2 separate regions of the Homo sapiens genome follow, and region 1 is linked to region 2. Evidence: promoter capture Hi-C in human tissues and cell types (Jung and others, 2019). All regions are on one chromosome and are shown on one strand. The core of a region is centred on a gene start or on the middle of the fragment in contact, and the rest is flanking DNA. Distances in the headings are between cores, read along the strand shown.

Region 1 (5,900 bases), core at 2,013-4,512, 140 kb before region 2:
GACAGGAACAGTGACCTGTGGGTGAACCTGGGGGATTACCTTTGCTTCACATTTTTCTTTGAATCTTTTGGGGGCCAGACCTTCACAAATGTGAATACTGTTTTCATAGACCTCAACATTGCCTTAAATAATAAACATTTAGCATATACATGTTTATTTATACTTTATAAATCCCCCTCATCTGTTCCAAGCCTTGCCTGTACTGACCCTGGGCTGCACACTGTACACAGGCTCTGGAAACTATAATAGGCTGCACCTCCTCAAAGAGCAGTCTAGGGGACCACAGACCCACAAATAAATGATCAACAGGCCAGGTAATAGATGCCCTAAATAGGGTGTCCGGATTAACCATGAGCAGGCCTTGGGAGCAGCAGCTTCCACGGCGAGCAGAAGCCATTGGAATTGAACTTTGAAGATGAATATGGGTTTGCTGCTGAAGTGCGGTGGAGAGCATTCCAGGGAGGGGGAGCCCCATGAGCAAAGACCCAGTGGTATCCAAGCACGGGGCTGGTGGCTAAGCCCCGATCAAAGCAACTCTTTCTAGAAGCTTTCCCCGGTGCCCCTAACAGAAATCACTTCTCTCGCGACATGCCAGCCTATTATGTCATGCGTAATAAATGTGCATTTGATCCATTTGCCCACCCATTTGTAAACTGTTAAGGACACCAAGAGTGCCTTATGACTAGGTGGCGCTTGGTCAAATGTGGTGGAATAAAGGAATCAATGAGAACAAGGATACTGTCTGCATGTTCCCTGCTTACTCTGGCTCCTAAAAGCATTTGTGGCATATGGCAGGTGTCAATATATGTCTGTTCAATGAATGAAACAGTTCCTGTCAACACATCGGTTGTCTTTTCCATGACTGTTCCTACACTTCTCCTGGCCCGAGCATAAAGCCAGGCCAGGGCACATGCTGTGCCACGCAGGACTTACTGCTGACGAAGGATGGCAACAGCCTCCCGAAGCGCATCAAAGGCTCCTCGTTGAGCTCGGTGGACTTGTCCACTAATTTGAAGAAGACGTCGTTTGGCTCACTGGCGAAGGTGTATACCTCCTTGATGTTCACCTTCCTGCCAATGCCCAGGACCACGAAGAAGTAGCCCTTGCATTTGGCCTGCAGGATGACTCTCTGGGCCTCCTCCAGCTGCTGCTCCGGCACCTCGCCCGTCAGCATCAGGACCACAATTTTCAGGTCCCGTGGGTTTGGGGCACTTTCAAAGACATTCTCTATGGTGTATTCAATGGCACTGCCTAAGGCCCTGGTTCCCTGCAACTGTGTCATTCCCCTGCTGAGGAAGTCCACCAGCTTCTCCTTGGAGCCATAGTCAGTCAGGGAGAATTCCACCTTCACAGGTGGCATGCTGGCATTGTCCACGGACTCAGAGGGCGCGTGCTGCACAACTGCCACTCTGGCGAAGTGCTGGGAGGCCTTGGGATCTGGGCTCATGTCCAGTTGTCTGACCAGGTACGCTATGTACTTCTTCATCTCATTGAACTGGAACAGGGTGGTGGTCTCAGCGCTGTCTAAGATGAAAGCCATGTCGATGTCCACATCGCTCCCTGCCGCTCTCCTGTCCCTGAAGGAAGGCCTCCAACTGCCAAATCCACAGGATGGGTCGATGTTGCAGATGTCTAGAAAGAAGCATGGCAGCCTATTTGTTCTGTGACACCCACAGCAGGATACACAGCTCATCAATCTGCTGGGAGACTTGGGCGATTAAAATGATCACATAAGATCAAAAGCGGGCCGGAAGCGGTGGCTCACGCCTGTAATCCCAGCACTTTGGGAGGCCGAGGCAGGTGGATCACGAGGTCAAGAGATCGAGATCATCCTGGCCAACATGGTGAAACCCTGTCTCTACTAAAAATACAAAAATTAGCTGGGCCTGATGGCGCATGCCTGTAATCTAGGCTACTCTGGAGGCTGAGGCAGGAGAATCGCTTGAACCCAGGAAGCAGAGGTTGCAGTGAGCCAAGATTGTGCCACTGCACTCCAGCCTGGGCAACAAGAGCAAGACTCTGTCTAAAAAAAAAAAAAAAAAAAAAAAAAAAACATCACAACCAAAACCAATTTATATCTTGCCTTGATTTGATTATGGCCAGATTTCAGTTTCTATCACCTAATACTTAGTAGATGAAACAAATCACTAACCTAAAATCTTTGTAGCATACCATGTGCTGGCATTTTTAAAAGAAATGAAAAATTATATTACTTCTCTGCCACTCTTTGAAGAAATATGTTCTAGAAAGTCACTAGTGCCAATGTTTTCATTCTAGATTCTAATGTCAAAACTTAAGCAGAAACTGCCTCCTCCTTTGTTACCTATAAAATGAATTATCCGCCATCAAAGAGAAGCTCTGTTTTGGGAGGTCCATTTTTAATATAGAAACTGCTGCAGTAGTATTTACTCTGGTAAATACGAGGCTTTGTGAATCAATTGAACTCAAGCTCTTTTTACAGATCATCATTATTCTCTCACTCTCCCATGGATATTATGTTTTGCAATTGCAGCTGAGCAGATCTTCCTGTTAGAGAAACAGCTTACCCAAGCAAACATGACACGTGAGGACATTCTCCAGGAAGTCTGTGAGGTCTCTCCCTGCAGGCAGGACAAGCGCATGCCCCACTGCTGTGTTATTGATCTGGTTTAAACAAAAGAACAATTTTGGTAGGGGCGTACATGATCAGTAATATCTGAAAATATGGCAGAGGAGTAAATCAAAGCTACATCAATAAAATAGATTAACTTCCCAATAGGGCAGTATTGGGAATATCTTCTCATTTGGGGGTGGGGTTAGGCTCTGAGTATAATAGAAAGACATAGGTTTTATTCTACTAGGGTGAGCTGGAGTTCATATCCCGTTCAAATGGGTTTCAGTTTTTTTCAGCTGTAAAATGGGGGGTAATACCTTCCTAATGGTGTCATTTGGAGGGTTAAATTAGATAATAAATGTTAGTAACTGGTGTATCCTCTGGCAAATAGTAGGAACTTAATCTTATCGTTATTTTTAGCAACAATATGGGAGCTCCATCCCTTCCCCACCCTCTCAGGTGTGGTTAAAGCAAGTAACAAAATCACTCCCAGTGGGTGCAAAGAGTCCTGTCTATCGCCGTACCTGGCACACGATTAGTAATTATTCATTTAACAAATAGCTAGTTTGAATGAATGAATGAGCAAATAATTAATGAATGAACAATTTTTTGATCTCGTTGAAACCATGCTAAGAAACTCACGTGGTTCTGGGTCCCTCAGCCCACACAAGGACAGACTTATGTGAATGAATCCCCCCATCAAGAGCACATGGCCGGTAGCCCAACTTCAACACTGAATTCCCAAGCCCAGCGCTCTATGCACAAATCATCCTGTGTTCGGCAGAACAAGCCCTGAGGAATGGCAGTGATGACCCAATGTCTTTCGCCGACACAGGCTGTGGTAAAAGCATAGAATATCCAATGTGGAAGGAAAGACATTAGCAATCATCCTGCCCCAGTCTCAATTTACAGGTGAAAAATCTGAGACGCAGGGACGCTAAGTGGCGTGCACATTACTTTAAATGGGTGGGGGGAGTGTGGAACCAGGCCAAGGCCTCCTGACTCCCGGGTGGACTCCTTCCTACCCATCACCCATCTGTCTTGAACAGTATCGCCAGAACTGCACTGAATAAATATTAATTGATGTAAGAATTAAACTAGTTGTCTGGGTGCGGTGGCTTACGCCTGTAACCCCAGCACTTTGGGAGGCCGAGGCAGGCAGATCACGTGGTCAGGAGTTCGAGACCAGTCTGACCAATATGGTGAAACCCCCGTCTCTACTAAAAAAAAAAAAAAGAAAGAAAAATACAAAAATTAGCCAGGCATGGTGGCGAGTGCCTGTAATCCCAGCTACTCAGGAGGCTGAAGCAGGAGAATCACTTAAAACTGGAAGGTGGAGGTTGCAGTGAGCCGAGATCACGCCATTGCACTCCAGCCTGGGTGACAGAGCAAGACTCTGTCTCAAAAAAAAAAAAAAAAAAAAAAAAAAAAAAAAAAAAAAAAAAAAAAAAAAAAAAAAAAAAAACACACAATTAAACCAGTTATTTAATAGAATTACAAGCGACACTTGGCCTCTCCGTGGGCTGACCCTTGGGGCCTCACTGAAGAAAGCTTTGCACAGTGGTGTGGTGTAGATTGGGGGTGCTGAGTCGGCATAGTTTTGGGGACCTCACTGAGAGACTACAGGCCTCCAGGGCCACCCTGGATATTCACCTTCAGGGCCGATTGGGACAGAGTGGAGACTGGAATGGGTATCATCAGCACATGGGTTTCAGAGTCTAATGGACTAGGGTCCTAGCCTCTCACGAGCACCTCACTAACAGCAGGATCTTCCTATCCATGAGGTGAGACTGATGATACAAACCTCACCAGCCAGTTATGGGAAGCAAATGCCCAGTACACAGTAAGACACAGCTCAGAGTGTGCACAGGGGGCCATCTTGGGAGGAGACAGGAAGGATGCAAACGTCCAGGTCCTCATGAATAAAGCAAACAAGTCACACCACCTTGTTAGTAGATAGAGAGTGTCACCAACACTAGCATCACTAACCGGCAAGAGCTGTCAACATGTGAGGAGGGACCTGGGGGCAGTGCTACAAGCATGTAGGCGTCCCTGTAGTGCTGGAGCCACGAGGTTGTCCTGGAGACCTCACAAGAGAAGTTCTCAGGCAGATGGCCTCATTGGGGACGTTTTAGGAGCTATGGGACATGAAGCCACAAAGGAGCATGGACGTGTCTGAGAACCTTCTCAGAGCCCCAGAAGAAAGGGAGATGCCAACAGCACGCACAGAGCACAGACCTGCAAAGCGTTGATGAGCTGCCGGTCTTCCTGCCTTGTAAGGAACAAGGGGGTGATCCCCGCATCTGAGAGCTTGAGCACAGCCTCTCTGAGCTGTGGGGATGCTCTTGTGGGTGTGTTGCTGAAGAAAACAGCCACTTTCCTCATTAGGAATCCGTTCCTCACACGCTTAAATGTGTTCCTGGCCACAAACGACATGGCAGTCTCCAGACTCTGCTGTTTGGATGTCAGAGCCACCTGAAGGTTCTTAATCTTGTCCAGGAGGACCGACTTCCTCTTGGAGTCAGCAAACCGGATCTCCGTGGTCACCTCGTTGTTGTAGGTGACCACAGCCACCCGGGCCCCCCGTGGGCAGTTGCTCTCAGCAATGGTCAGGTCATTCACAATACTCAAGACCACATCTCGCATCCGGCCGAAAGTGTCTTGGTTGACTCCCTCAGAGGTGTCTAAAGCAAAGGCTAGTTCTGTTGGGAAGACGGGGCACTCCAGGGGCCCTGTGGAAAGTAGAGGGTGGAGGGTTAAAGACAAACTGTACTTACTACAAAAGGGAGGCTTCCTTTCCTTAGGAGAAAGTCACCAAAATCAACTTACCGTAACAGCAAGCTAGAAAAGAAGCAAAGAGAAGAAAGGGTGAGAGACTACTCTACCATGTGAGAATTTCGAATGTAAAAATATGCATTGTGAGACAACAGAAAATCATGTACTTACGGCATTTATCTTTGATGCTTTGGATGAGGGCACATTGCTTTAAAAGAAAATAAAAGAATATGTAAAGAGAGCAAATCAAAGGCTCATGAGGTTAATGAGTCATTCTGGACACATGCAACTTACATCGATGGAGTCGCCCCTGTTGCCCTTGGGACCCTGTAAAACCAAGGAACGAAAGGTGAGAGGCACAGCAGATGGGGAATTCGAATAAACAGGCTTTGGCCCCCAGAAATACACAGAGCAAGACAAAGGGGCCCCTGGATAACCTTGATTGTTTACAGCCTCTCCCTCTAAACCTGATCTTATCCCTTGCAAAGCAAAAAAGAGAAGATTCTGGAGCAAATGTGTTTCCCTGGGAGGT
Region 2 (6,819 bases), core at 3,053-5,552:
TAAGATTTGGGGCAATATTTTGCATGTGTTCTGTTTCCTGGATGGTTATCTCAAAAATCCAGAACCCTTGTTAGCCTAATGCCATATTGGCCCAGAGGGTTTAGACAGAGAGACTGAGGGGGACGGGTTTTAACTACTGCCTGCCAGAGAGCTGGAGCACCTGAGAGGGTCAGTGGATGGGAACTGCAGGCCTTTTCAGCACTAATCCTGGACTCTGCCATTGCAAAGGAAGCAGGCACGTCCAGACTCTGTGAGGCTCCTTGGTGAGCCAGAAACCTTCTCTCCCCTAAGGTTCCCTATCCACGTGCAGAGAGGAGGCTAAGCCCAAGGCCACCCCTCAGTGGGACTTGCCTGACCAGTTATCCTTGGAACTGGGGTATGCCCAGGCAGTGAAATTAAAGGGTGCTTCTCTGAAGCCCATCTTTGGTGGTGAGCTTCCTGCTGGCATGGCCAAGTGAACCATCCTTTCCTCCCTCTCATGCCAGCCACTAAGTCCCAGCAAAGGCTGAGTCTCCAGACGGCCACTATTACGACAAGGAAGTAGGGAGGGGACTCTGCTGTCCTCTGGTGTCCACCCACCAACCCAGACTTTAACAGTGTGGCTTGTGAGGCTCAGGGCTGAAGAGATCGGCTGCCTCTGACTCATTGTGTGATCTTGGGTAAACACCATCTGACTCTCTGGGCATCAGTTTCCTCCTTTAGAAAGTGAACAAGGAAGGGTAGGTCTCAGGGCAGGGTAAAACGTCAGGGAGGTAGAGGGTACCAGCGACGGGCACACTGGGGAGCCCTGAGAAGAAGCTGGGGAGGCAGGAATACAAAGATAAAATCTATTCTCTGCTACCATTTGACATTGTTTATTAAATTTTATTCTTTATTTATTTAGTTTTTTTTTTTTGAGACAGAGTCTTGCTCTGTCACCCAGGCTGGAGTGCAGTGGCACAATCTCGGCTCACTGCAACCTCTGCCTCCCTGGCTCAAGCGATTCTCCTGCCTCAGCCCCCGGAGTAGCTGGGACTACTGGCGCGCACCACCACACCCAACTAATTTTTGTATTTTTAGTAGAGACAGGATTTCGCCATGTTGGCCAGGCTGGTCTCGAACTCCTGACCTCAAGTGATCCGCCCGCCCTGGCCCAAAATGCTGGGATTACAGGCGTGAGCCACCGCGCCTGGCCTTATGAAATTTTAAATGTGTACACCCCTCCTCCAAAAATACATATTAATTACAGGGGGGAAGGGAGTAACTTGCCCATGGAGAAGGCTGGAAGACAGCACCTTAGTCTGGGGATCCCAGCAGCAGTAAGGAGACATACTGCAGCCATGCACCAGCTGACAGGACACAGGGAGAGGACCCGGCCTCACTTCTGCAAGATGATTCTCCCAACCATGCAAAACCTGAGTATAATCATGGGAAACAGCAGACCAACCCAAATTTAGGGACAGCCTAAAAAATAAGTGGCTTAATATTTAAATAGCAAAGCCATGAAAGTCAAAGACAGAGGAACTGATCTGATTTGAAGGAGACTTAGAAATGACAACTAAACAGAACATGAGATTCTAAACTGGATCGTTTGGCAACAAAAAATTACGGAGACAACTGGCAACATTTGAAAGGACTCCGATGATTAGATGATAGCAACATATCATGTACAGATGTTGATGGTTGGATTGCAGTTTAATAGAAGGTTGTCCTTGTTTGTATAAAATACACTAAACCCTCATGTCAGAAACTCCATCACAAATGGCTAGGGGAAGGTAGGGTTCTTTGTGTTATACTTGAAACTTTCTGTAATTTGGGGATTGTTTAATCATTTTAAATGTTTATAATTCCAGGGCCGGGTGCAGTGGCTCACACCTATAATCCCAGCACTTTGGGAGGCCGAGGAGGGTGGATCACGAGGTCAAGAGATCAAGACCATCCCGGCCAACATGGTGAAACCCCGTCTCTACTAAAAATACAAAAATTAGTGGTGGTGTGCGTCTGTAGTTCCAGCTACTGGGGAGGCTGAGGCAGGAGAATTGCTTGAACCCGGGAGGCAGACGTTGCAGTAAGCCGAGATCAAGCCACTGCACTCCAGCCTGGCAACAGAGCAAGATTCCATCTCCATTAAAAAAAAAAAAAAAAGTTTATAATTCTAGAATTTTCTCTTAAAATTGTATACATCCTTTGACTCAGAAAATCCAAATCTATAGGCTTTTAGTCTACAGATATATCAGTATGTATGTACAATGATATTCATGTGTCATCCTATGTATGATAGGTGTCAATAAGAATTATCTAGGATGATATTTATGGCAGAATCATTTAAATAGCAAAAAATCAAAAATTAACTGTCCATCAATAGAAGACTGGTAAGTAATTATGGTAACTCACACATTGGATACTCTGCAACCAAAAAAGGATGAAGTAGATCAACAGGAATAGTAATTAATATTTACCAAGCACTCACCACATGGTGTCTCACCCAAGCTGCAGGGATATTGATTCACAACACCCTTATGTGTAACTCCCATTACTATTCTCATCATGGAGAAGAGAGAAAAAAGTCAGTAGAAGATTCAGTAACAGGTCCAAGATGACACAGCTTGTGGGCCACACTCCTAGTTGGAATTCCGACTCTTGCAGTTGGTTTGAGCCCACATGCTTAACCTCACACACACACACACCATTCAGAAAGAATATAGAAGACACCATTAATAATGATTGCTTTCTGGTCATGGAGGTTAGTAATGGAATAAGAGAGAATTTGGCTTTTCATTTTATACTCCTTATATTCTTTACTATATACCTTATATATCAGCGTGTGTCAGTTGTATATTTTTTAAAACCACTACTTCAAATAAATAAGCACTAAAGTATTAAAAACATTTTTAAAAACTTCTGCCCTTAAGGAACTTAAGTCCCTACATCAACTCTTAAGGGATTTATTAATCTTAACAAGTAACAGTAAAGTATATGGCAAGGAGGTAAGGAAATGAAAAACATAAGCACCAGATCATATGGGATGTGGAAATACTGGCTTCAGTGTAAGCTTCACTCTATTCCAGGGTTCACACTCAACAATTGATGGTGTTTGGTAAGAGCACCTGTCTCAAAGCAGCCCAGGGGCCTGAAATACCCTGATTCACCTACAGTGTTCCCCTGGGCTCAGCAGGCAACAACATTCTTTTTTGTTCTTTTGCAGCCTTTTGAAAGCTGTTTACAAATAATCTAATGTGATATCACAACAATCCTATAAGGTTTTGATTCCTCTTCTGTTAAATGGAGATACTAGTATCTATTCATTCACCTAATGGCTTTATTCCTATCATTTTGCAGATAGGAAAACTGAATTGCAAAAGCGGTTCCTGGAGAACAGAATGTGAGTTTTTAAGTGACAAGGGAGAGGGAGGGGGAGGGAGAGAAAATTCTGAAGCGCCCAGTCTTGGAGGATGAGGGAGGAGGGCAATTCCCTAATGTCCATTGGAATTCGGAAGGACAGGCAGGCCGGGCGGACTGGAGACGGCGGCTCGCCTTGGGACCCTCTGAGCTTGCGGGCCCCGCTGAGCACCCAAAGGCCGGCCCTAGAGTCCAGGAGAAGAGCGCAGCGGCGCGGAGCTCCCAGGCGTTCCCCGCAGCGCGTCCTCGGTCCTGGAACCACCGCGCCGCGCGTCCTGGCTTCCACATCTGCCCCATTTGCCCGCGGATCTTGACTTTTTCTTGGCGGGCAAGGCCTCGGTCTCCTCCCCGCAGCAGGGCTGCCCGCGGCTGCGGGACCCTCCTGGTCCTGATGCCTGGCAGAATCGAAGGGGTGAGGGTACGCTCTCTGCAGCAGAAAGCCCTGGGCTTAAAGTCCTATTTATTATTTGGCGTTGCCACTTACTGGTCGGTGGCTTTGGTAGGGCGCGTTTCTGAGCCTCAGTTTCCCCATTTGTAAAGCCGAAGTACATAGCGCTTTCCCTGCAGAGTTAGAAATTTCGACGATGTGCCGCGCGCTCTAGAGCGCGCTCAGCAAGCGGGTCCCACCGTGCCCAAGGCAGGACCGCGGCGCGATGTCACCTATGCAAAGTCGCCGCAACTCACGGGAATCGCAGCTGTGTGCTCAACTTTCCCCTCCCCGCCGCCGTCTTTCTCCCCAAACTGGCTTGGGGGTCGAGTATCCGGGGCTCTCCCCCGCACTGGCGCTTCCCGCGCGGGCGCCCCAGGTGTCCGTTCCGTTCCGCCCTCTGCCTGGCAGGGCATCCAGAGGTGTCCGCGCTCCCGGAGCTGGGCGGAGCGGGGCGCAGCCCACGTGGTTCGGGCGGGAGGCGCCGGGACGTGGCCAGTTGCCCGCCTGCCCCGGAGAGCCAGGCGCTAACCAGCCGCTCTGCGCCCCGCGCCCTGCTTGCCCCCATTATCCAGCCTTGCCCCGGCGCCCTGACCTGACGCCCTGGCCTGACGCCCTGCTTCGTCGCCTCCTTTCTCTCCCAGGTGCTGGACCAGGGACTGAGCGTCCCCCGGAGAGGGTCCGGTGAGTGCACTGAGAAGAGGGAACAGCGGGGCCAGGGTGGCGCCCAGGACTCGGGGCTTAGGCTTTGGGGGGTGCGCGGTGTCGCGTGCAGACCCACTGGTGTGAAAACGCCCCCAGCCGCCAGCCTCCCGGCCTCGGTCCAGGCTGGTGAGGACAGCGCGTTCCCAGCCACCCAGCCTTAGTCCCCCAGGCTTCACCTGGATTCTTTGAGCAGACTGCTCTGGGTGCAGGCACGGGTGGGAGTGGGATGGCGGGGGATCCCCATTTTGGGCAAAACGGTTGGTTTTAATCAGAAGCTCCATTGCCTCCATTGCGAGTCTGCCATGCAGACTGGGCCAAGGCTGCTGATGCCAAGTAGGCTGGCCCCAGGGGAAAGGTTTCCTCCCAGCCCAGGAGCTGGTCTTGGGGTGAGGAAGAGGCCAGATGATCTTGGCCTGGGAGGAGGCACCTGGCTTCCTCTGGGCGTCTAAAAGTCTGTTTTATTGGAATCACCTTTTGTTTGCAGACAGACTCCCTGGGCCCACCAGGGAGGTGTGGGAAGTAGAGATGTGGGAAGGGTCTGTGAGCTGTGAGCACCTGTGGGCTTCGTCCCTACTAGCCCCAAGTCCCTACAGGAACGGAATCTCACTTGTAAATCCCTTCCCCGGGCTTAGACACCGCGTCCCACTGACATTAACTGGCACTGGAAACTCCACCTCACTTCCACACGGAACTTGGGACAGGTCCTTTTTTAGATGGTGTGACTGGTATCTTCTTCACTTATTTCTTTCTGAGGGAGTGAAATGACAGTCGGGGGAGAGCAAGGCTCCCAATAGGTGCAAAGGCCAGCATTGCTGGGGGCTGTGAAGTCTCAGGAAAAGGCTTCTGGACTTGCAGACCGCGTTGCTGAGCAGTGACATTGACACCCCGGGTTCAGCTGTCCTGCATCTGTCCTAGGAAACCCATCCCTCCAGCTGGCCTGCATCTGTCCTAGGAAACCCATCCCTCCAGCTGGCCTGCATCTGTCCTAGGAAACACATCCCTCCACCTGCTCATTGGCGGGATTCAGCTGACCTCAGTAAGGCCTCAGCCTTCCTGGGCCCAGCCCCCTCCCTGCCCAGGACCGTGCTCCTTAGTATCTAAGTACCAGGCATGGGTCACTGTGCTCCTGGCCCTCACTCAGGCTCTAAGAACAGTAGCAGGTGCCTCAGAGGATTGACTGAGGACACATTTAGAGAACATGGGATGGTGCCCGGCACACACATGGGGAGTCAGTGGGTCTTACTGAGTACGACATGAGTGACTCAGAAAAAAATTAAAACAAACCAGCTGAATGTGTGCCCAGTGAGGGGCTGGAGGTGGTGGAAGTGTCCCAGAGCCCTGTGGGCTAATGGGAAAAGTGAAATTGGTGCCTTTCAACCACAATGCAATAACGGCTCAAATAAGCCCCAGTCTCAGTGGTTGGGGCAGCCTTCTAGGGCCAACTGTCTTGTTCTTTTCAGAAGCAACCTCTGGAGGAACAGTCTTTGCCCCTACTCCTCCCCACTACCCCCACACCATCACTCCCCCTCTTAATTTCAACATCCTGGCATCATCCAGGGCTGGAGAGGGCCAGAGAGGTCTTGGAGCTCAGCCATTGTCCATGGTACAGATGGGGAAACTAAGACCCTGAGAGGAGGGGCATCTTTCCCAGGTGGCTGGGCTGGCTGTGCCTGAACTGGGATGGGAACCCAGCTCCCACCTCTCAGCACCATCCTCCTACAGCCTCACCTGGGACCCATCCTTGCGGTAGAGACTAGCACTGAGGCTTTAGGTGTAAATGCAGAACTCATGTCCATTTATAAATGAGGTTTACCACCAACTCCCCAGAGAACTGGGAGAGCAGAGGGGATGGCAAGTTGGTGGGCAGGTGGCTGAGGGGCAGAACACCCTCCCAGTGCTGTTGCTGCTGGGGCCATTCCAGACCCTTGTGGCTACAGCACAGATGTGCCTGGTTCACTTGTAGGGAAGGGAGTGGCCCTTCTAGGTGGAAATGTGCTCATTTAGCCACTGATGAGAGCTGGGGGTCAGTGCCTACTGATGGGCCCCACCTATAGAAATAACCATACAGGCTGACCTGGACGGCAGCATTCGGGAAACAGCCACAAAGGATTAAGGCAGAGGGCACTACAGTTGTCATCTCTGCCACCTCCCCTTTATCAGCAAGAATAACACCACACGACACACCTTGGCTCTGAGTCAGAGAGAGCATTCCTGCTGTTGTTAGCTTGCCAGTTTGTTTGCCCAGGCGAGTAATCACCCACAATCACCATTGTTCCAAGGCTCCCCAAGCAGCCAGCCCAAGAGCTAGT

What was found. The method cuts DNA at HindIII sites, captures the fragments that hold promoters and counts their contacts. A contact is called where the count stands out against the background at its distance.
Region 1: a fragment that was not itself captured here is called in contact with the fragment with the promoter of MLPH in region 2 in 1 of the 25 tissues and cell types used here (IMR-90 fibroblasts).

What each region holds. Positions count from the first base shown.
Region 1 is chr2:237,339,519-237,345,418 of GRCh38, forward strand. COL6A3 (collagen type VI alpha 3 chain) reads right to left here. Exons shown (of 44, transcript NM_004369.4): 33 at 5,663-5,695; 34 at 5,540-5,576; 35 at 5,423-5,434; 36 at 4,832-5,325; 37 at 2,547-2,643; 38 at 934-1,632. Among named protein-coding and RNA genes, the nearest start is that of COL6A3, 72 kb to the right of the region's middle. The HindIII fragment of the contact is 6,001 bases long and covers 263-5,900 here.
Region 2 is chr2:237,482,949-237,489,767 of GRCh38, forward strand. MLPH (melanophilin) reads left to right here and starts at 4,303. Exons shown (of 16, transcript NM_024101.7): 1 at 4,303-4,489. LOC105373957 (a long non-coding RNA gene) reads right to left here and starts at 4,200. Exons shown (of 2, transcript XR_001739962.2): 1 at 3,863-4,200; 2 at 2,752-3,773. RefSeq lists an enhancer at 3,170-4,138. The HindIII fragment of the contact is 7,222 bases long and covers 1-5,280 here.